Regions from separate parts of the Homo sapiens genome. Here all the other regions are linked to region 1. The links are contacts of gene promoters, found by promoter capture Hi-C in human tissues and cell types (Jung and others, 2019). All regions are on one chromosome and are shown on one strand. Each heading gives the region's core, a stretch centred on a gene start or on the middle of the fragment in contact. The rest is flanking DNA. Distances are from core to core; before and after follow the strand shown.

Evidence for each region. Contacts are between HindIII fragments. The study calls those that stand out against the background at their distance.
Region 2: a fragment that was not itself captured here is called in contact with the fragment with the promoter of TFF3 in region 1 in 1 of the 25 tissues and cell types used here (lymphoblastoid cells).
Region 3: a fragment that was not itself captured here is called in contact with the fragment with the promoter of TFF3 in region 1 in 1 of the 25 tissues and cell types used here (lymphoblastoid cells).
Region 4: the fragment with the promoter of RSPH1 here is called in contact with the fragment with the promoter of TFF3 in region 1 in 4 of the 25 tissues and cell types used here (dorsolateral prefrontal cortex, lymphoblastoid cells, spleen and 1 more).
Region 5: a fragment that was not itself captured here is called in contact with the fragment with the promoter of TFF3 in region 1 in 2 of the 25 tissues and cell types used here (heart right ventricle and small bowel).

Annotation. Positions count from the first base shown.
Region 1 is chr21:42,314,027-42,318,308 of GRCh38, forward strand. TFF3 (trefoil factor 3) reads right to left here and starts at 1,383. Exons shown (of 3, transcript NM_003226.4): 1 at 1,267-1,383. The coding sequence starts at 1,348. RefSeq lists enhancers at 2,483-3,102, 3,103-3,721. The HindIII fragment of the contact is 18,141 bases long and covers 1-4,282 here.
Region 2 is chr21:42,555,675-42,559,956 of GRCh38, forward strand. It overlaps SLC37A1 (solute carrier family 37 member 1), which reads left to right. Exons shown (of 20, transcript NM_001320537.2): 11 at 3,284-3,415. Among named protein-coding and RNA genes, the nearest start is that of SLC37A1, 44 kb to the left of the region's middle. The HindIII fragment of the contact is 7,302 bases long and covers 1-4,282 here.
Region 3 is chr21:42,513,425-42,517,706 of GRCh38, forward strand. It overlaps SLC37A1 (solute carrier family 37 member 1), which reads left to right and starts at 428. Exons shown (of 20, transcript NM_001320537.2): 1 at 428-1,293. RefSeq lists enhancers at 1-277, 1,119-1,348 and silencers at 189-548, 769-848, 859-958. The HindIII fragment of the contact is 7,381 bases long and covers 1-4,282 here.
Region 4 is chr21:42,494,339-42,498,620 of GRCh38, forward strand. It overlaps RSPH1 (radial spoke head component 1), which reads right to left and starts at 1,886. Exons shown (of 9, transcript NM_080860.4): 1 at 1,795-1,886. The coding sequence starts at 1,848. It overlaps RSPH1-DT (RSPH1 divergent transcript), which reads left to right and starts at 2,201. Exons shown (of 3, transcript NR_135518.1): 1 at 2,201-2,327; 2 at 2,485-2,595; 3 at 2,895-3,105. RefSeq lists silencers at 1,843-1,962, 1,993-2,232. The HindIII fragment of the contact is 9,831 bases long and covers 1-4,282 here.
Region 5 is chr21:42,180,426-42,184,707 of GRCh38, forward strand. No RefSeq gene overlaps it. Among named protein-coding and RNA genes, the nearest start is that of ABCG1, 37 kb to the right of the region's middle. The HindIII fragment of the contact is 4,033 bases long and covers 219-4,251 here.

The sequences.
Region 1 (4,282 bases), core at 133-2,632:
GTGACAGGAGAGGCACACGCCATAGAGATCATTGCAACGCATGCTGCCTGCTTTTCACTTTTTTCTGCATCTCCCCTTCCTGAATTGTTGAGCATGTCCCACCCTCCCGGGACATCCTTCAGTCCCCAATATTTTCATGTTTCAGGCAAGCCTCTATGTCTGTATGTGCAGCAGAAGTTCACTGCGTTTCATTAACGAACTGAGTATTTCCTTAGGAAAATGGCAATCACGTGCAGTGTCTTACATTCCCTTCTCTTGCTCCCAGTCCGTAATTGCTTATCCTCCTGGCATCCAAACTTCGCTCACACTGGAATCAGCTGCAGAGCTTTAAAAATGACTGACGTTGGCTGGGCATGGTGGCTTACACCTGTAATTCCAGCACTTTGGGAGGCCAAGGCAGGAGGATCACTTGAGGCCAGGAGTTTGAGACCAGCTTGGCCAACATAGCGAAACTCCATCTCTACTAAAAATCCAAAAAATTAGCTGGGCATGGTGGTGCATGCCTGTAATCCCAGCTACTTGAAGCCGAGGCACAAGAATTGCTTGAACCCAGGAGGCGGAGGTTGCAGTGAGCTGAGATTGTGCCACTGCACTCCAGCAGTGAGTGACAAAGCAAGGCTATCTCAAAACAAAACAGCTGAGGCCTGGATCTTGCCTGGAGATGCCCTGATGTAACTGGTGTGCCCCAAGCATTAGGATTTTTAAAGCTCTCCAGGTGATTCTAATGGGCTGCAAGTTCGGGAACCACTGCCTTTGACCCTGCTCAGAAGACACCCAGATAAAAGCCATGCCCTCATTCCTTCAAACTTGGGTTAATGGAGCAGCCACACCCCATGGCAGGGTTGCTATGCAATGGCTAAATGAACCTTGTGCCTGCCGGTATTGACAGTGTTCTGAAGTCAGGGTTTTTCTCCTGCATCTTTCCTTTTTCTTTGTAAATGTGGAACAATGCATAAAGACCTATATTGTAATTTAGAAATCTCCAGCAAAGATGGCTATGGGGTCATAGGGGATGGGCTCAGGCTCAAACCCTGATTTCAACACAGACTGGGCAGGGCTGCCTTGGATAAGTTGTTAACTTTCTCTGAGCCTCGGTTTCCTTGTCTGTGAAATGGGGACAATAAAGACCCACTTCAAAGGGCTAGCGCAGGAAAAAGTGTATATGTGACAGGTGGCCATTATTAAATGAATGCAGAATCCCCCCTTATCCTGGATCCCTTCCCTTCACGCCCACCCTGCCACCGGGGCAGTCAGGGCAGTACTCACACAGGCCCACGTACTCCTCAGCAGAGCTGGAGGACAGCAAGGCCAGGACCAGCCCCAGCATGCAGAGCGCTCTGGCAGCCATGACCACCGTGGGCTCCGGGACGCAGCTCAGGACTCGCTTCATGGTCCAGGAGGCCTCATTTATGCACCGTTGTTTGCACAGCTGCTCTGGATTGTTTGCTTGGGGAAGGCTCTCCCTCCTGGCTGTGGCTGCTCCTGTTCTCTCCTGCATGCCTTTGTCAAGCTCCCAGACAGTTTTTCTCTCCCAAAGGGGAGAGGTCAGTTCAGCCCCCACTGTTTTGGCAGCAAGCGGTAAGGGCGGATTCCAGTTCTGGTTCCGGGTCCTCTACTGGGGAGCGGATGTGTGTCAATTGCCCTCCTAGCCTGGCCTGGTGTAGTGTGCAGGAGCCATGTGGGGTGGCAGGACCAGGGTGTGGTGTCCGTTCCATCTCAGCCTCCCAGCCAGAAGCCCTCAGAACACCCCTGGTCCCATGACAAGAGAGCCCCAGGCTGCTTCATCCCAGATCGGCCTCGGAGACAGGCAGCTCTGAGTGAGTCAGGACCCTGCGGCTCTCTCACAACTCCTGAAACACAGAGATTCCTTGTCTTTCCTTTTTGCTTTCTCCCCTAAAAATTAGTAACTACATTTTAATAAGTGGATGAAATGAATTGATTGAAAATATGTTAGTAAAAACATGGTACACATAATTGATTTTTAAAATCAAATAATACAAAAGAGCCTTTCCTATCCAGAGGCATCTATTGATCTATTGTGAACACTTTTTTAGGTATCCTTTCAGAATTTTTCTCTCTGGATCTAAGCACGTTTTTTTGGTTTGTTTTTGTTTGTTTGTTTGTTTTGTTTTTTTTTTGTTTTTTTTTTGTTTTTTTTTTTTGGAGACAGGGTCTTGCTCTGTTACCCAGGCTGGAGTGCAGTGGCACAATCTCAACTCACTGAGACCCCCGCCCTCGCGGGGCTCAAGTGATCCTCCCACCTCAGCCTCCTAAGTAGCTGGGCCACAGGCATGTGTCCAGCTAATATTTTGTATTTTTTTAGAGACCAGGTGTCGCCATGTTGGCCAGGCTGGTCTCAGACTCCTGGACTCAAGTGATCTGCCTTCCTTGGCCTCCCAAAGTGTCAGGATTACAGGCATGAGCCACTGCACTCGGCCACATTTTTAACACAAACAGGAACTGACTCTCCACCTTTGCCCAGCGTGCTCTTTTAAAAACTAAAGACTACATCTCAGGAATTGTTTTATAACAACATATCAGATGAGACAGCGATGATTCTATCCATTTTCCAGAGGAAGAAACTAAGACTCAACATTTCCGGTGCCTATCAGAGGTTACTCCAGTGTCCCTGGTATAGCTGGTATTTAACCCACTCCCAGGACCCTAAGCCTCCGCCCTCGGCATCCGCAGCATCCCCCAACCCCCCAACCTCCTGCAGTGGACTGGCTGGTAGTGGGCAAGAGACTAATCTCATTCCAGGAAAACGGGCCCCTAGATTTTGTGTTCTCCGTGTTTCTTTTCCAGGGAGGCATTTTGATGACCCCCACTGGCCCTTCCAGGAGCCTCTGTCTGAAGGGTGGACTTGGTTTATCACCCCGAGAAATGGGAGCGCCTGGCTGCTTGGATTTAGCCTGCAGCTGGGGTCCCCGGTGGTGTGTGCAGGGCGGCCTTGAGCCTCCAAGGGTGCATCCACAAACTGCCCTTCCCCGAGTGACCCATGGGAGCTCGATGGCGTACGTGCTGAGCACCAGGATGTGTCCTGCCCTGTGACTCCCAGGCCCCGCCCTTGCGCTCAGCACGCCCTTTGTGGATGGATTTGAGGGCCCCTGGCCTCTGATGTGCCACTCCCGCTGAGGCCAGCGAAGGAGGAAGAAGGAAAGAGCGTTGCCTGCCTTGTTTTCGGGGCACTCACTTTTTCTGGGAGACAGCGGACCCAGGTTCATCAATGGACAGCAGGATTTTCATGTTATTAAAAAGGTCATTGTAGGGGAAATCCCTGGGGGATCTGGTGAGATCTCCCTGGGGGATCTGGTGAGATCTCCCTGCCTTCCCACTGCTCCTAGTACCCAGAGGCCAGGCCAGGTCGTGGTGCAGGGCTGAGTTCCAGGAGGGTGCAAACACCCCAGGAACAGACTGCTGCCCCTCCGGCCCTCATGACCTGCTGGGGAAGGACCCCCGCAAGGAGCTTCTGCAGGTGCTGTGGTCTCCACCTGCTGCACTCAAAATTGCCTGGAGTGGGGAGAATATCAATGCCTGGGCCCCGCCCTGACAGGTGGTTCTGTCGCCTGTGATTCTTCTCTGCGGCCAGCACCGAGAACCCTGCTGGGGTTTGCTTCCGTTTAACTAGTGAATGTTGACTGAGCTCCTACTGCCTACACCCAGGGTTTAGGGCTGGGGAAGGAATAACAAAGGTGACACATTCTTGTCCTTGAAGAGTCCCCCCGCAAAGGGAGACGGGATCATGTCAGAGTTAAGATGGTGAAGCCAAGACTAGGTTCTGTGCTGCCTGACCTTGGGCAAGTCACGTCCCATCTGTACCTCAGTTTCCCTACATGTCACAGGGTGCTCACCCCACAGGACAGCATGAAGTGGTGCTGCACAGCCCAGCCAGGTGCCTGGGACACACACTGACCACCTGCCGGGTGTGCTGGATCAACCATGATGGCAGAGGAGAGGATTCCTGGTCCCGGCTCTGGTAGGAGCAAAGGCTGTGGCAAGGGGGCCAGAGCTGGGTCCTGTCAGGTGGAGACGCACAGGCTTCTCAGAGAAGGGGGATTTGGGCTGCACCTCTGGAGAGGTCAATGGGGAGGCCCGTGTGTGTCCCCTCTCTCTGTTCTAGGAGCCCCCTCCCCAGGAGCCCTGGGCTCTGTACAGGAACAGAGGATGGCATGGGAGAGCCCAACCTGCCTTCCAGAGCCTGCATTCCCACAGCCTTCCCCAGCCACCCTATTCCCCTGGGGGAGTTCCAGTTCCAGAGAAAAAGCAGAGCTGTTGTCAGAGC
Region 2 (4,282 bases), core at 864-3,363, 240 kb after region 1:
CACAGGCCCTTTCTTCTGGTGTAGTAACTGACCCATAGAACTAGCCTTGGCTTCTAAGTATAGTTTCTCTCTTTCCTTTTCCGGCCCTCTAAGAAAGGCTGTTTACAGACTTGCCATCAAGGAGCCAGTTATGTAAGTAAAGGCACTGGCAGGCCTTATTTCAGGCTGAGGGTGACGACCACAACCGGGCGCATGCTGACCTCGCTTACGTGGCATCCCCTTTCGGCGGGCCTGCCATTGCTCTTGGGTCAGGGTAGGCGGGGAGAGTCCCCATGAGGTTGGCTGGACACCCTGGATGTCCCCTTTCCCAGAGTGACCGCTGGGCTCAGTGGGGTGTCACCCAGCCCCTGACCTCCACTCCTTTTCAGACAGAGCTGCTACACTATGTCACGTAGCAGGCAGTTTCTCAGTGGCCTCTTGAAGAGACATGTAAAGAAAGCTGGGGGGCGGGGAGCAAATGTGGGAAAGAGAATGAGGCGCTGCTGTCACTTGGCCACGTGGCGAGCCCGCAGGTCCCCGCGGGCGTTTTAGAGGATTGTCTTGGGGACGGTCGCACTTGCCATCCCTGTAGTCACTTGTCACTTTTCCTCCTTGACGTCTCTGAGGATCCTTCTGATTGGCTGTGGCTCAAGAACTGTTGGGCCCACCAAACGCGGCGTGAGCACGGAGTGGGTATTTGGAGGTTGAATGTGACTCCACCGTGCACTTTGCACGCCAAGTGGGGACTCCACAAATCTCTCTTGTGATGGCCTTTCCCAAAGGGAAGCTGCAGACAGCATCGGGTAGCGGGGTGAGCTTAGCATTTTTAGATAAAGCGATCGTTATTACGCAGTCCCCCCACATGCGTCTGTGTGTATTTTTGTTGTGTGTGGGGGCATTTTAGTAGAGGGAACCCTTTTCTCTTTGAAAGTGTAAGCCCTAAGCGTGGAGTGCACTGGCCACAGAAGCCCCCACACCCACCGGGGGCTCCACAGATCCCATTTGGGGCTCTTGGGACACAGACTGGAAACTGCTTGTTTAGAGGCAGAGGTGCCTCTTGGCCTCCAGCCTTGTCTTGGTCCACCCAGTGGCTTCTTGTTTGCTATGTAAGGAGGAGGCAGCAGCAGCCCCCTGTTTGTTTTGGAAAACCAGCCATGGCCCCACACTCTTTCCCATCTCCTCCAGGAGCAAACAACTCAGGTATGGTGGCTACAAGTCCTGTTTAAGATGAGTGGCTGTGAGCACAGGGCCCGTTCTCAGCAGAAACAGAGCCTTCTGTCTGTCTCGGGGGCTCCTTGCTGCTTAGATAAGGAGCAGAGGGTCTGTGTCTGTGGCTTTAAACCAGCCCAGCAAGTGGACCCTGAAGCACTTTACAAATCCTGCAAGGGCCGTGGGCGGCCTTTGGGCATCTGGGTCCTACCTGAGGCCAAGTAGGTCTTCTGTGTTGACCTGCGGTCACTTCTCTGCGGGTCAGAGGGTGCGCTTCTCCTGGCTAAGCGGCCTCGTTCCGCTTGACTTTTCTCCAGCTGGCTGCATTTCACCCACTGCTGAGCCTGTTTCCTGCGGAACGGCCTGTGAAGTCCTGTAGCCCTCAGCTTGCTATGAGTGGAACTCGCCTGGGGCTGCCCCAGGGACTGCTTCCGTGGGGCTGGGGGAATTCGAGGCTTCTCAAAGCCCCCCGAGGAGATTCCAGTGCTTAGCCACAGTAGAGCATTACTGATGTAGTTTTCTAAACTGGACGATTAGCAGAATTCATGAGAGAAAAGTTTATTCAGAAACTCAAGTCGCCATTCTTTGCTTTCACGTGCCGTGATGGGATTATCATCGGGAGCATGTTAGGCATCTGCACTCAGCCTTGTCATCTTCATTCCAGAGCACCTGACTATGTGGCCACATGTGAATATCTTCATCAGAGACCCGCTCTCCATGCCAGAGTCCTAGCTGTGAAGCCGGGCTTCCTGGGGCACGTAGACGCTGGGCTGCCCCCAAGGCCACCCACTGGGTGCCCACACTGGGCTGCACTCGGTGCCACCTGCCACCCGGTTTCCAAATGTCTGTTTTCCACTGGAAGAGAATTCTAAATATTCTAAATATCAAGGGGCAGGGGAATGTGGAATACATTACCATTTTCTTTTTTTTTTTTAATTAAACTACATTTTTAGTCCAACTTATAACAGGTTATAGTGAGATAAGTACCACAAAGCCTGTTTGATTTTGTGAAAGGTCTGAGATACCTAGAAGCATTTCTTTGTAAGACCTTGAACCTCATAGCTCACTCATGAAGAATATTTTTATTTTATTTTCATTCTTTTTTGAGACAGGGTCTTGCCCGGGCTGAAGGACAGCCGCACAATCACAGCTCACTGCAGCCTCCACCTCCTGGGCTCAGGTGATCCTCCTGCCTCAGCCTCCAGAGCAGCTAGGACTACAAGCGCATACCACCACATTCCACTATTTTTTTTTAGGTCTTACTGTGTGGCCCAGGCTAAGATTATTTTTATGTTATCCTTGCTCTGACTTGAAATCCCACTCTAGGTTGGGGAATCACTCTTCTTTGCTTTAATGAATGTACACTTTGTCCTTTAGGAACGTCTAGACAATCAGAATTCATAAATATCAGAATAGGTGTATTTTAAAATAATGTTGGTGTATTTTAAAATAATGTTATTTCTGGTCATATATGGCCATTGTGAACTCCTAAAAAATGCAGGATCATGTAAAGAATTTCTTATTAGCATTTCGATAAAAATTACACATAATTCCACCACTCGCTGACAACCATTGTTGGCTTAGATTTTAGCTTCTTTCTTTCTAGAAATAGATCCTATAGTTGCCTAGTTACATACGTAGATATTTAAACATTCTTTGAGGTTATAATGACATGCAGTTTTGAATGATGTGTTATTTAATGTGTCATAAGCATTTTCCGTCATTAAAATCTCCCAACCTTTTTTTTACAAGATGTCATTCGTATGGATGTATTTGAATTTTCTATTTTTTCTCAATGATGATGTGACATCCATTTTACTTTATAAGTATCTTTTTACTTTTCAAATTATTTTTTGCCAATAGATTCCTAGAATTTCTGGATCAGAGGATCTGTGTACCTAGCCGTTCATGAAAATGCATGAATGCTAATCATTCTAACACAGTGGCCAGGTGGGAATGTCACCCAGGATGTCTCCAAGGCAGTGGAAGAGAGAGCCGCCAGGCACCCTCGTCATTAGGAAGCCTGGCCCCACTTCACCCAGACTGCCCGGCTGGTAACACCTTTCCTTTTTGTTCCCAATGGATTTGCCTCCAGGACCCAGAGATGCAGTGCCTGCTGCTCTCAGATGGGAAGGGCTCCATCCACCCGAACCACGTCGTCATTCTCCCCGGGGACGGTGGGAGTGGCACGGCCGCCATCAGCTTCACAGGGGCCTTGAAAATTCCAGTAAGTAAACGTGCCCAGGAGGAGTTTCAGAAAGGGCTGCTGTGCTGGCTGTGGGAAGTCTGGTCGGTTGATGATTAAGCTTAAAAAGACATCTGTGGTTGTAGAACCCGGGGATTCGAATCCATAGCCAAAGCTAGACGCTGCACAGTGCTAGCTTCAGGACTGAATATGGCTGCAGTGATATTTGTTCGCCTCATACCATGTTTAAATTTTTTTTGAAATTCGTTTTCTCCATTTAGAAATTCAGGTTCATAGAAAAATGGGGCTCCCTGCCTTCACTGGAAAAACGGAAAGCCTGGCACCCTGGGCCTGCCCCCATGTGACAGGTTGGGGAACTGAGGCCCTGACTACTGTGCCACCTGGCCCCTGTGGCCCGGCCCCTCCCCAGTGCACTTGCCCTCCCACAGGCCTTGAGCGTGAGCCCATGGGAGGCGCTGGCACTGAGTGCTGCGCCGTGGCCTTCGCGAGCCCGGCTGGATTCTCTTTCCCTTTAAAGTGCCTTTAGGCTGGGCGCAGTGGCTCACGCCTATAATCCCAGCACTTTGGGAGGCCGAGGCAGGCAGATCACCTGAGGTCAGGAGTTCAAAACCAGCCTGGCCAACATGGCAAAAACCGGTCTTTACTAAAAATACAAAAATTAGCTGGGCGTGGTGGCAGGCGCCTGTAGTCCTAGCTACTCAGGAGGCTGAGGCGGGAGAATCGCTTGAACCCGGGAGGCAGAAGTTGCAGTGAGCCAAGATTGTGCCACTGCACTCCAGCCTGGGTGACAGAGCAAGACTCTGTCTCAAAAAAAAAAAAAAACCCAAAAAGTGCCTTCAGTGCCACAGCCCGTGGTCTGATTGCCCGTGTGTGTGAGCAGAGGATGCC
Region 3 (4,282 bases), core at 1,138-3,637, 200 kb after region 1:
CACAATAGGAATAGAAGCCGGGAGGCCAAGCAAAGGCCCTCTTTGGGGGTGGGGGCGCGGCGGCATGTGACCCTCGCCGCCTGTGGGGAAGACCTGCCTTGAGGACAGAGCGCCAGGGGTGCAGAGGCCGCCTGGGACTGCCCGGAGGCCGGTGGGGAGCGCGCCAGCGAAAGCCCGTGCGCCCTCGGAGCCGGGGAAGGCGCGGGCCATGACCCGGGTTCGCCCGCAAAGGCCGGGCAGTGCCGCAAGGCGTGGGGGCGCCCCCGCCCGGTGGCCCCGGGGCTGGTGCGACCCTGGGCACGCCGGGGCCGGGGCCGGAGCCGGGGGTCGCGGCGGCCGGGGAGGGGGAGGAGCCGCGCGGCTCCGCCGGCGCCCCGCGGGCCAGGGAAAGTGAAAGGGCGGCGGGGCCTCCCGCGCGCCGCTCCAGGAAGTCGCGAGCAGGAAGCGCCCGCGGCGGCCGGGCCGGGCTGGGCTGCGGAGCGCGGGCCTCGGCGGCGCAGGTGAGGCGCGGGGCCGGGGCCGGACCGGGAGGCGGGGACCCCCCGCCCCCCCGCCCGCACCTGCGGGGCAGCCGGCGCTCAGGCGCCGCAGCCGCTCAGCACCTGCGGCGCCCTCAGGGAGCCGGGCGCGGGGCCCTGCGCACTCGGAGCTCGGCTCCTCTCCTTCCTTTTCTTTTTTTTCGGGGGGAGGTGGGGGCTGGTTTGGATGTTTTCCGAGAGCCGGGGACGGTCTCAAGCTATTTTCGCGGAGGGAAGTCTTTGAAATACGACATCTAGAAGAGTGGCCCTCGGCGACAATGCCGGGCGTTCCCGGACCGGGGCAACGCTGGGATTCCGGGGAAGTGGAGGCAGAGGGAGCGGGCACGGGGCCGGCAGCCGCTCCACGGAGTCCCCGGCAGGGGCGAGCTTAGCTGTCCAGCCGGGTCCCCTGCCCACCCCGGCCCGGGCCGCGGTGACAGCTGAGGGTCCAGAGAGCCGGCAGGAGGGGACCCTGCGCATTGTCTGCCGCGATGGGGACGTGGGCGTGCCCGCGGAATTCACCTCCTCCGGGGACCAGCCGCCCAGGGAGGAGCCGGCACAGAACGCTGGCTCGGAGCGCCGGCACCCTGGGCCTTTGCGTTGTTTGTCGGCTGAGCAGCTGGTTCCCGGAGCCCGTGGGCCTCCTGGCCAATGCGAGTGACAGCGACCTTCTGGGTTTATAATAAAGGGCTTGACGCGCCGGAAAGTCCCCTCGCCGCTGGCCACCAGCCTTCCAGCCCTTACGGCCCACGCCGTAATCCTGGTGACCGAGAAGGTACGTTCAGTCTAAGGATTTGCATTTGAACGAAGGATACTGGCCAAGCCCCTTACCACCCCCACTCCCCGCTAACACCCCAGCCCGCGGCCCCAGGTTTGAATTTCCAAAGGAGGAATTGCTAAAGCCTGCCCTTTCCGGGTCTCCCTTAGCTCTTTGCCTGGAAGGTGCCTGCCTGCCTGCCTGCCGGCCCTTGAACTTAAATCGTCTGAAGTTGTGTAAGTGGATAAATATTTTAGACTTCCCCCGTTGTTTTTTTATTAATCCCCTTTGAGAGCAAGCTTGAAAACACCTGGCCCCAGACCTGTGATTCACCAAGTCATTTTGGACCTGCATTTACACGTTCTGTTTCATGCAGCCCACCTGTGATGTTCTCTTTGTTGGGGGTTGGAGGCAGGTAAGGGAGGTGGTGCAAATGGAATTCAGGTTCCTTGTACTTCAGCCAAGGGGAAAGAGATAGTGACCATTTTCATTCATCTTTAATATGGAAAGCGCCTTTAAAAGCAAAAAGCCATAGAAAGAGCACACTCTGGACAGGAAGTTGTATTCTATCTCGTAATTTAAAAAAAAGAAAAGAAAAAATGCATGAAAACTTTTGGAGGAGAATTGCATTTCTCACCCATCTTTGCCTGTAAAGTGAGACCCAGTTAAAAAAAAATGTCATAAAGTAGATTATTTAAAATATCTGTGGGGCCGCTTTGATTATGTGTAATGCCACCTCAGCCCTAAAAAGACTGAGGAACCTTACTCCTGCTATTGCTCACTTCCTATCCCCATTATTTGAGTCTCTGCAGATTACTTGGAACCTTCTAGGCAGCGCAGATCACATGTGGGTGGGTCTGGGAGTGGAGCTTGTGAATGTTTCTTTCCTCAGCTTATTCTGTTTTACAGTTGCCTAGGGTGGGTTTTTTGAAGAAATAGGTATAAAACCATGTGTCTTTCAGAGTCTGTTTGTTTTTTTAACTTTTAGTTTCAGGGGTACATGTGCAGGTTTTACAGGTTGTAATAAAGATGCTCTAATGGGCTGTTTCCTAAGTTACTATCTTTTTATATTTTTTTAAGACAGGGTCTCGCTCTGTCGCCCAGGCTGGAGTGTAGTGGTGCAATCTCAGCTCACTGCAACCTCCGCTTCCCAGGTTCAAGTGATTTTCATGCCTCAGCCACCCGAGTAGCTGGAATTACAGGTGTGCACCACCACGCCCAGCTCTTTTGTGTATTTTTGGTAGAGATGGGATTTTGCCATATTGGCCATGCTGGTCTCGAACTCCTGGCCTCAAGTGATCTGCCTGCCTCTGCCTCCCAAAGTGCTGGGATTGCAGGCATGAGCCACCATGCCTGGCCTAAGTTGCTGTGTTTGACAGTGCAATGAAACTGGACATTCTGCCGCTTTTCCTCCCTGGAATGGTAAGTTCCAGGGGGGCCTGTAGAGAGTGACTTTTTAAAAAAGTATCTCTTCTTTTTATGTACTTGGGCAGTGTGCCAAAAACTGGGTTTAAACCAAGTGATTTGCTCCCATTCTGCTGCCCTTTCTCTGCAGGGGATGGGCAGGAAGAAGAGTGGCTGGAGGGAGGAGGTGGCTCAGAGAAACAGGACAAACTGGAATCTGCCCCACTTATCCAGCTGACCCAGGCGAGCCGCCTAGCCTCATTTTTCTCCCTTGTGAAAAGAACGCCCTGCCTCTTCAGGGTGGTCACGGGGCTCAAATGAGAGCATGTCAGTCATGGTTCGTGCTTCCAGAGGTCTTGACCCACTCAAAATGAAGTGGTCTTTAGTGGTGCTGCACAGGCTAGGGAGGAAGGGCCTCATTAGTTGAGCTCTTAACATCCCAAATGTAAAATCACTGTCTTTGCACATCTTAACTGCACTCACTATGAGAATTTATAGCACTTTTCTTTCACCCATTTTACAGGGAAAAGAATCCATCATTGTTTTAAAAAGAAATCAAAGAGGTTTTTTTTCCCTTCTTGATTTGTCAGTGCCTTCTGGGCCTTTGATGTTGTTGTCACAGGTTTTATCAGAGTTGGAGGTTTTTGATTTATTTAGTAGATGGCAATGGAATGTTTCCAGACACGCTGGACATGGAGAAGCAGCACTTGAGAGGAAGACGTTTGCTTCTGACCATCCGTTTCCAGACACTGTTGAACCAAATTCTTTACTCTGAAGTTGTCATCACAAAGTCATTTCCCAGAGTAGATCCAGACCCATTCTGGAGCCCACCCATTTTGAGCAAAATATTGCTTAAATCTAGAGGTTTGAGCAGACGTGGTTTTGAAGTATTTGTGGCTGTTCATTCAACGTGAGTTTCTTGAGCACGTGGTCTGTGCTAGGTTCTGGACAAGGAGATGGAAGTAGGACCTTGCCCTGCAGTCCCGGGCCTTCCTCTTTTGAATTTACAATGAGGATAATATCAGCTAGTGTTTGTTGCGCATTTACTACGTACCAGGCCACTTATCAAGTGCTTCCCATAGGTTATCTCATTGCATGTTTATAACAACATGGATGCTATCATCCCCATTGTTTAGCCTTGAAGGAGAGGGAGCAGAAAGGTTAAGTGACTTGCCTCGGCTTACACAGCCCAGGGTCAGCCTTGGAAGGAGGAGGTATTGGAGTGGGGTGAATCCCACCTATTCAGGCCCTGTAGGACCTAGGAGAAAGGTGTAGTTCTGGCTGGAGCAGATAGAAGAGATGAGGGGCGGCTCCTGGGACGAAAGCTCAGCAGGGATTTTGAATCTTTTTGTAAAAGGTGGTATAAGGGAAAAATCCTTGGAGAATGTGCATTTTTGGAAGCTCACTTTCGAGGGAGGCAAAAGTGAATGTGGGGAACTGATTGGCTTTGGAGGACGCAGTGACTCAGGAATGTCATGAGTTTGACATTGGGATGGGAGACCAGGCCTGCCTGCTGTGCTGGGCCCCTTCTCAGTTCTCTGGCCTCCCTCCCCATTCCTTCCTATATTGCTCTGCCTTCAGCCCTGACTTCATAATCAGGTCA
Region 4 (4,282 bases), core at 636-3,135, 180 kb after region 1:
TTCAGAAATAAACGTCTGTGCAATTCTTGCCCTTTTCTAGCACTGTTTGGACCACTAATTCCTGCCTAGAATATAAGGTAAAAATCTGCGACCTCACAGATTTGTTTCAGGGTTAGTTTACATCAAAATGTACAAAAGTCCCCTCCTTCTATCCAAGAGGCTTCCCAATACACCCAACACTGAGCCGCTGGGGTGGCTGAATAAGACAGAAATCCTTTAAAATGACCCCAAATGTGATCTGAACCTAAAAATTATAGGCACTAAAAAGTTACAAATCAGTGGGGCCATTTGAGGAGACAAACTAGAAATCTTGCTGGTCAAGTGTTGCAGGTTGGGTTCACCTAGAAACAGACCCTGAACAAGTGATTTTTTTTTTTTTTTGAGACAGAGTCGCTCTGTTGCCCAGGCTGGAGTGCAGTGGCGTGATCTCGGCTCACTGCAACCTCTGCCTCCCGGGTTCAAGCCATTCTCCTGCCTCAGCCTCCCGAGTAGCTGGGATTACAGGTGCCCGCCACCATGCCCGGCTAATTTTTTGTATTTTAGTAGAGACAGGGTTTCACCGTGTTGCCCAGGCTGGTCTCAAACTCCTGAGCTCAGGCAATCTGCCCACCTCGGCCTCCCAAAGTGCTGGGATTACAGGTGTGAGCCACCGCGCCTGGCCTGATTTTTTTAAGTGCTCTCCTGGGAGAAAGTAGTAAAGAGGGCAGGGAAGTAGACATGAAAGGGCAGGCAGCTAAGGAAGGATGCCTTTGCAGGTGAAGTCCCAGACTTGGCCTAATCCAACAGGGACTCTGGGGGCATCAATCGCACTGCAGACTTTGTCCTGCTTCTTGCACTAGCTACTGGCTGTCTGGCCGGATGTGAATTTCAGGCACTTCTGGCTCTCCATACTGGGCAGGTAGTTCCAGCGCACAGAGGTGATAGCTTGAGTAGCAAATCAGGCGGAAGCTGGGAGATGAGTGCCCAGAGCTAGCAAAAAGGTCTGGGCAGGCACTGACAGCACCACTGCAGAGTCGCTAGATTTTTCAGTTAATTCTGAAAGTACCTCAACTCTGTACTGTGCATGCAGACCATAGTGGCTGAGGTTCCCTATCTGTCAGCCATGGAGAGGTCACTCTCTGGAGTAGGGAGGAACTACTCTCTGGGTGATAGAAATATTCCCACACAGAACCCAGCTCACAGGCTGGATGTGCCCTCTTTCTCCTCTCTGCTGCCTAACTCAGGAAATAACTCCAAAGACCTGGGTCAGTTCAGATGGGGACTGAAGAAAGCACATGTGAGGATACGCCTATAAGGTAATATCTTCAGGAACCCTCTCCTGAGCCCAGGGCCTCCTCAGCATTTCTTGGAGGCTGCCAGGAAGCAACTATCCTCCATGCATCTAAATGCCGGGGGAGCAAATCTCAGCTACAGAAATGACTTATTCAAGGGCAGTATGGCAGCGTGGGATGATCTGCTCATCCGAGAAAACTGCCTCGATGGGAATTAACACAGGGAGGAGGAAACTTCCAAAGCCTTCCGCTGGGAAATCTTTGCCTTTAATGGGAGGCAGGATGGGGGTGGGGGAAGAACGAGGCGGCATGTGGTAACCAGACGTCACAGCGTTTCACTTTTCACCATCAACTTCCAGGACGCACGCAGGTGTGTCTGGCGTGGCCTTCGTCCCTGCCGGGGATCCTGGGGAGCTGTGGCTCAGACCTCTGGTTTCTGCGCCTCCTCACTCTCCAAACCCAACCTCGAGGTTCCCCCGCCGCTGCGCACCCTGGGAAGCCCTTTCTCACCAGGAGCTCTCACCCCAATATCATTCTCTCCCTCCTCCTCCAACTCCTCCGAGCCCAGGTCCGACATGGTCTCGCCCCAGCCTGGATCACAGCCGCAGCGCCTCTAGCAGGTGGGTAGCAACCGCCTCCACCGCCGCGTCCCGCGTCGCCATGGAGACGCGGCCGGTCCCGCCTCCCTCCCAGCCCGGAAGATGGGGAGCGGGGACAGGCGACGCGGACGAAGCGGGAGGAGCCACTGGCAGCCTTTGCGTACTGTCATAGCAACGGGAAGGGCACCTCGACCAATCACCGCCCGGGAATACGGAGGGGCGGGGCGGAAGGGACGAGGTGGAGCCAGTGGCAGCACTCTGGTGCCGTCATAGCAACGAGGGGCCGCTTCGGCCAATCACTGCTCGGGAAGCGAGGGGGCGGGGACTGGGCAGGGCCTGAGCGGGTTCTGTGCCTGGCTGCCCACCGGCTCTCTGACCTGGACCTCGCCGTCGCTGGCCCCTGAAATCCATCACTTTTGTCGGCTGTTCTGTGACGCCACAACGAGGAGCCACCTGGGTACTGGGCCCTCAAGAGGAAGGACGCGGGAAACGCGTCCGGGCCAACTCTCGAGAGGGTTTCACCCCTGCCCAGTGCGGGCACTGCCCGCTCCCTTCCGCCCCCAGGCCTCGCAGGCCCCTCCGGGGATGCTGCCCACCCCCACTTACCTTTCTAGGCTCTGCTGACCCTTCGGGATTCGCGGCTAGCTGTGATGTGTCCGCCAAGATCTCTTCTCTTGTCTGTAAACAACTTCACTCTCAAGGAGGCAGCTCTGGCCTCTCAGCAGGTGCGGCCTACAGTGATGTCCGTCCGGGTTTTACATCCTTCCCCGACCTCGACATGAGTCCCAGCCCCCTCGGGCCTCTGACTCTCAGGTGTCCCCTACGATCGCCGTCCTCTCCTCTCGCTCCTGGCTCCCCTACACTGTCACACACCCACACAATCACAGACGCACACGCATGTACACGTGCAGGCTTGGAAATCTGCTTTACCTGACGCACTCCGCCTGCCGAAGGCCCCTCACATCTCCCATTTCCTCTGCCATCATCCCAGACTGCAAAGCTGTGTTATTTGTTGTTGCTGCAGGAGCTGGGGAGGAGTGACTGAATAACTATAGGATTTGGTCTTGATGGGAGAATCCCAGAAGCCAAATCCACGCGGTGAATAAGCTGCTGATCTTCCAGAGCACACATCCCCTAGAGATTCTTCCCAATGCTAATATGAAAGGTTACAACCATAACCCATCATCAGGCCCAAATATATTACTTACTGAATAAATACACAAGTTACAACAACACACGAGATTCCAAAATTATGTCGTTTTTTAGATGCAAAGATAAAAATGTTGTAAACACCAAAATTTAACAGCTTTTCTTATGGGGAAAAGTGGGGAGTTAGGGATAACAGATGATTATTATTTTCTTCTCTACATATTGGCAGTTACCCAGTTACTACAATTAAGCATGTCCTATTTTTATAATAAAATGCCAGAAGCATTTTAAATGTTAGAAATCTAGAATGGTAACATAAGTATATGCAAATAAATACTCGTTTTTTACATTTAAAATGTCAGAAATTTAGCTTTCAAATTTGTCCTAACAATGACAGTAACCAGTGTTTACTAAGTTCTGACACTGTGTGTGGGCACTGTTTTAAGAATTTTATGAGTTATCTTATTAAATCCTCACTATCATTCCTCCATTGAACATCTAAGGAAAGGGAGTTATAGGGGGTTATAAACTAAAAATAACCTCCTAAGCCCCACCACAGCCAACTGAATGGACCCCTCTTGGCCAAGAGGGCCCCAGAAACCTTAAAAACTGCGTTCTCAGCCATGATGGGAAGGGAGGTCGAACATGCCTCACTAATACCCTTGTGCAGTTTAGACACAACAACTAACAAGCATTAATGTTAAAATAGAGATCATAAGACTGACAGAATGGACGCTGTGGCAGTAAGATACCAACTTACAAACAGGACCTAAGGCCATGCCAGGCATGAGTTAAGTCATGCATCCCTACACTTAAAAGAATAAACTATATTTTAACTACCTGGAGAAGGTCTTATGACTCGTGTTTTACATCCTGTACTTGAGCAAACAATCTTACTGTGAATCTCTCAAATCGTATCATGAGTTCCTCAGACTGTTGATGTACTAATTAATACGTAAACTACTGACACTGAAAAGGATACTGATTTGTTTCTGAATCATGACGTTTCACTGATTGTCTTGTGCATATGCAGAAAACATTTTAGCCTGTATGTTGTCATCTGTAGCCAATGACTGTAACCTCTATATTGTCCCTCCAATGAAAAAAGACAACTGCAATATGAGGAGTCCCCTTCCCATTCCTCAACTTTCTTATAAAAGCACTGCAACTTGTAACAGACTTTGGAACACACCCAACTTTGTTGGTGTGTCTTCCCCATTCAATCTTCAAATTTGGCTTTCAATAAGCCTTTATCAATTTCCG
Region 5 (4,282 bases), core at 985-3,484, 130 kb before region 1:
TGAGGAATAGCCGCACTGTCTTCCACAGTGGTCGAACTAATTTACACTCCCACCAACAGTATAAAAGCATTCCTATTTCTCCACAGCCTCACCAGCATCTATCGTTTCCTGACTTTTTAATAATTGACATTCTGACTGGCGTGAGATGGTATCTCATTGTGGTTTTGATTTGCATTTCTCCAATGACCAGTGATGATGAGCTTTTTTTCATATGTTTGTTGGCTGCACAAATGTCTTCTTTTGAGAAGTGTCTGTTCATATCCTTTGCCCACTTTTTGATGGGGTTTTTTTTCCTTGTAAATTTGTTTAAGTTCCTTGTAGATTCTGGATATTAGACCTTTGTCAGATGGATAGATTGCAAAAATTTTCTCCCATTCTGTAGGTTGCCTGTTCACTCTGATGGTAGTTTCTTTTGCTGTGCAGAAACTCTTTAGTTTAATTAGGTCCCATTTGTCAATTTTGGCTTTTGTTGCCATTGCTTTTGGTGTTTTAGACATGAAGTCCTTGCCCATGCCTATGTCCTGAATAGTAATGCCTAGGTTTTCTTCTAGGGTTTTTATGGTTTTAGGTTTTACATTTAAGTCTTTAATCCATCTTGAGTTAATTTTTGTATTATTTTCTAACTTCAACATAGTTTCTTTTTTGACCCATGAGTGAGTTAGTGTATTTATTAATTCCTAAACATGTGCTCCCTCTCCCCAGTTATCTTTTGTGTTTAATTATTAATTGTGGATAAATAATAAAATGTTCATGAAACCAAATTTTTAACATTTTTTGGGTTTTGCTCTGTGTCCTGGAATTAGGTAAATTTTTGTAAATGTTCTGCTTGTGCCTGAAACATGCCTGTGTTCTCTCATGTCACAGATGCGGCTGGTGTCACCTATGTCTCTGGGGCTCTGTCATTTTGGGATGTTCTGTATAACTCGCAACTAGCAGTGACTGCATCTCTGTGTTAGAAGGCATTTCTGGAAATACGGAAGGCAGGGCAGGCCAGAAGTACTTGGGAATTGACATTCCTAGGAAAAGCCATGAGACAGTGAGGATGAGAGCTGGGGAAAGGCCCTCTCCTGTCTACAGACATGTTTGTTTTACTGTCCTGGTGAACTGAAGCTTTGTCATTGAGTACTGACACTCTATTTATTGCTCATGGTTTTGCCTTACATTTATTTTTCTGATATTTACATGTATTCTTTGGTTAATGTTTTCTTGCTATTTCTCTTCTCTCTTTTTAGTTTTTTATATGGAAATGTCTAAACATAAAATAGAGAGCTTCGTGTAACAAACTACAATGATGCAGCTTCAAGAATCAGCAGAAAACCAACTTTTGTATTTTAAACCTGTTTTTAAAGAACTAAGTTGGCTTTTGAATTTTCTCTCTTGGAGATGTTTTTCAAAGAACCAGACCATTCATCCATTCTACCTATGTCTGATTTCTAACTCAGGGACTTCTACTTTTACCTATATTAATTCCTTCTTTTTACTTTTTTTTGCCAGGTATAAGGTTTGTTTTAAACTTCAATTATTCTACCCTTCATTTTCAAAATTTTTAATGTGATTCTCTTTTTATATCTTTTTTCTTTGTTTAATAATTTCTTCTGCTTCTTTTACATTTGAATAATTTCTTCAGTATTTCCGCCAGAATGTCCTATAAAATTAATTCTATTTGATGTGAATGCATGCTTCTAATGTTTCCAATGCTAGTTTTGGGGATCGGTCATTTGGGCTGGAATCCAGGTCTGCTGGCCCTGGTTTTCAGATAGCTCTTCACTCAGTTATGTGACTCCATGGCATTAAAAAAGGCTTTGAAAGGCCAGGTGCAGTGGCTCACGCCTGTAATCCCAGCACTTTGGGAGGCTGAGGTGGGCAGATCACTTGAGGCCAGGAGTTCGAGACCAGCCTGGCCAACATGGTGAAATCCTGTCTCTACTAAAAATACAAAAAATTAGCTGGGCGTGGTGACACGCACATGTAGTCCCAGCTACTCAGGAGGCTGAGGCAGGAGAATTGCTTGAACCCAGGAAGTGGAGGTTGCAGTGAGCTGAGATCACTCCACTGCACTCCAAGCTGGGTGATAGAATGAGACTCCATCTCAAAAAAAAGTGGGGGGAGCTTTGAAAGCCTCACAAATTAGGCAGACAACTGTAAAAACTTAAACAAACTATTATGAAGGCTTAGTAAGGTATTCAAAGCCAGTGGATTGTTAGACGTCTCCATGTGTTTTAGAATTGTGGTTTGCAAGCTCATGTTGCATGAGAACTTGAGTTTCTGTTTTTTTGTCCCCCAACCAAGGAGCAGCTCTGGGCCCCCTCTCTGCCAGCTCCCTCCCATCCCAAGGCTCACCTGGGCCAGCCTCCTTCTCCCTAGGGGCTGGGGCTTGTCTAGCAGAGTCTCAGCACTGCCATCTGTGAAACCCATCCCCTCCCTTGCCCACAGTGTCCTTGGCCAAGGAGCCCTAGCCCAGCCCAGCCCAGCCAGCGGCAGCAGCAGCTTTTTCTCAGTCACTTTCACCAGCAGGGCTGGCCTGACCCCTGCCCTGCTTTAAGCAGGGAGCTGTCTCCATCCCCACCTCACTCCTGACCCTCCAGCACCTGCCTCCAGCCCCAGAGCCCAGCCAGCCATCCTCAGCCATGGGCATCCCAAACCTGGCTTTGGGTATGGATTTGTTCTTCTAGGTTTTATGTTTGAGGCAGCACCATGTCCCCACACCACCCTGCCTATTCGTGAAGAGGTCTGGAGAGGTGGTGTGACTGCACAGCATCAGGGACTGGTCAGCTGAGGGATGAGGGCTGGAATCCAGGCCTGCCGGCCCGACTCTCAGGGCACACATCACTCTGGCAGGGGACTTCATGACATTAAACAAATTAGGCAGACAAGTGTAAAAACATACAAACTATTCTGAGACTGCTTAGTAGATAAGCTATTCAAAGCCAATGGTTTATTAGAAGAGGGAAAAATATATGTGTGTGTGTGGTGTAAGTGTGTCTGTGCGGTGTGTGTAGTGTGTGTATGTGGTGGGGTGTGTGTGTGGTGTGTTTGTGTGGTATATGTCTGGTGTGTGGTGTGGTGTATGTATGGGAGATGTGTGGTGTGTGATGTGTGGTGTGCATGTAGTGTGTATGTAGTGTCTGTATGGTGTGTGGTCCGGTGTGTGGATGTGGTGTGTGGTGTGTGTGATGTATGGTGTGTGGTACACTGTGTGCATGTGTGTGTGTGTGGTATGGTGTGTGTGATGTATGGTGTTGTGTGTGTGTGTGTGGTATGTGGTATATGTATATGTGATATGTGTGTGGTATGTGTATGAGGTGTGTGGTTGTGTGTGTGAGGTGTGTGGTGTAGTGTGATGTGGTGTGTGTCTGAGATGTGTGGTGTGGTGTGTGTAGTGTGTGTGTTGTGTGGCATGTGTGGTGGTGTGTGTGTGAGGTGTGTGGTGTGGTGTGTGTTTATGGTGTGTGTGTGTGAGGTAGGTGTTTTGTGTTGTATGTGTTGTGTGTGGTATATGATGTGGTGTGGCACGGTATGTGTGTGAGGTGTGTGGTGTATGTGGTTTGTGTGTGTGGTGTGTGGTTTGTGTGATGTGTGTGAGGTGTGTGGTGTGGTGTGTGTCGTTTGTATGTGTGATGTGTGTGGCGTGTGTGCACACATCTGTGTGGTGTGCGTGTAGTGAATGTGTGTTTGGGTATGTGTGTGTTGTGTGTGTATGGTGTGAGTGGTGTGTGGTGTGTATGTGTGGTGTGTGTGTGGTGTGTGGTGTATATGTGTGGTGTGTGTATGTGCCTGTGTGTGTGGTGTGCATGGGGTGAATGTGTGTTTGGGTATGTGTGGTGTGTGTGTGGTTTGTGTGTGTGGTGTATATGTGTGGGGTGTGTGTGTGGTGTATATATGGGGCATGTGTGTGGTGTGTGTAGTCTGTGTGCATGGCATGGGGTGTGGGTGTCTGTATAGAAAAATGAAGAGGAGCTCCCTGAGTTAACATACCTGGGACCCACTGGACAATTGAGCCTCATGTTTTTTTAAAACCTTAATGGTTAGAAGACTGGGAAATAGTTTTTTTTTAAACCATAAGCAATTTCTGTGCCCAGAAGTGAGGAATTCCTTGGGTGGAATATTTCGTTGCTCTGGTAAGCCTCACAGTGTCATTGGTGTGCGTTTGGCCGTGGGGGAAGAAAAGGAGGAAGAGGTGATGGCTCCAGTGAAACTGCAGGGACTTGGCGCCAGTGGAGCTGGCAGTGGCCTCCACTGGCCAGTAGGGACCAATCGTTAAACCCACTCTTGGTCCAAAATT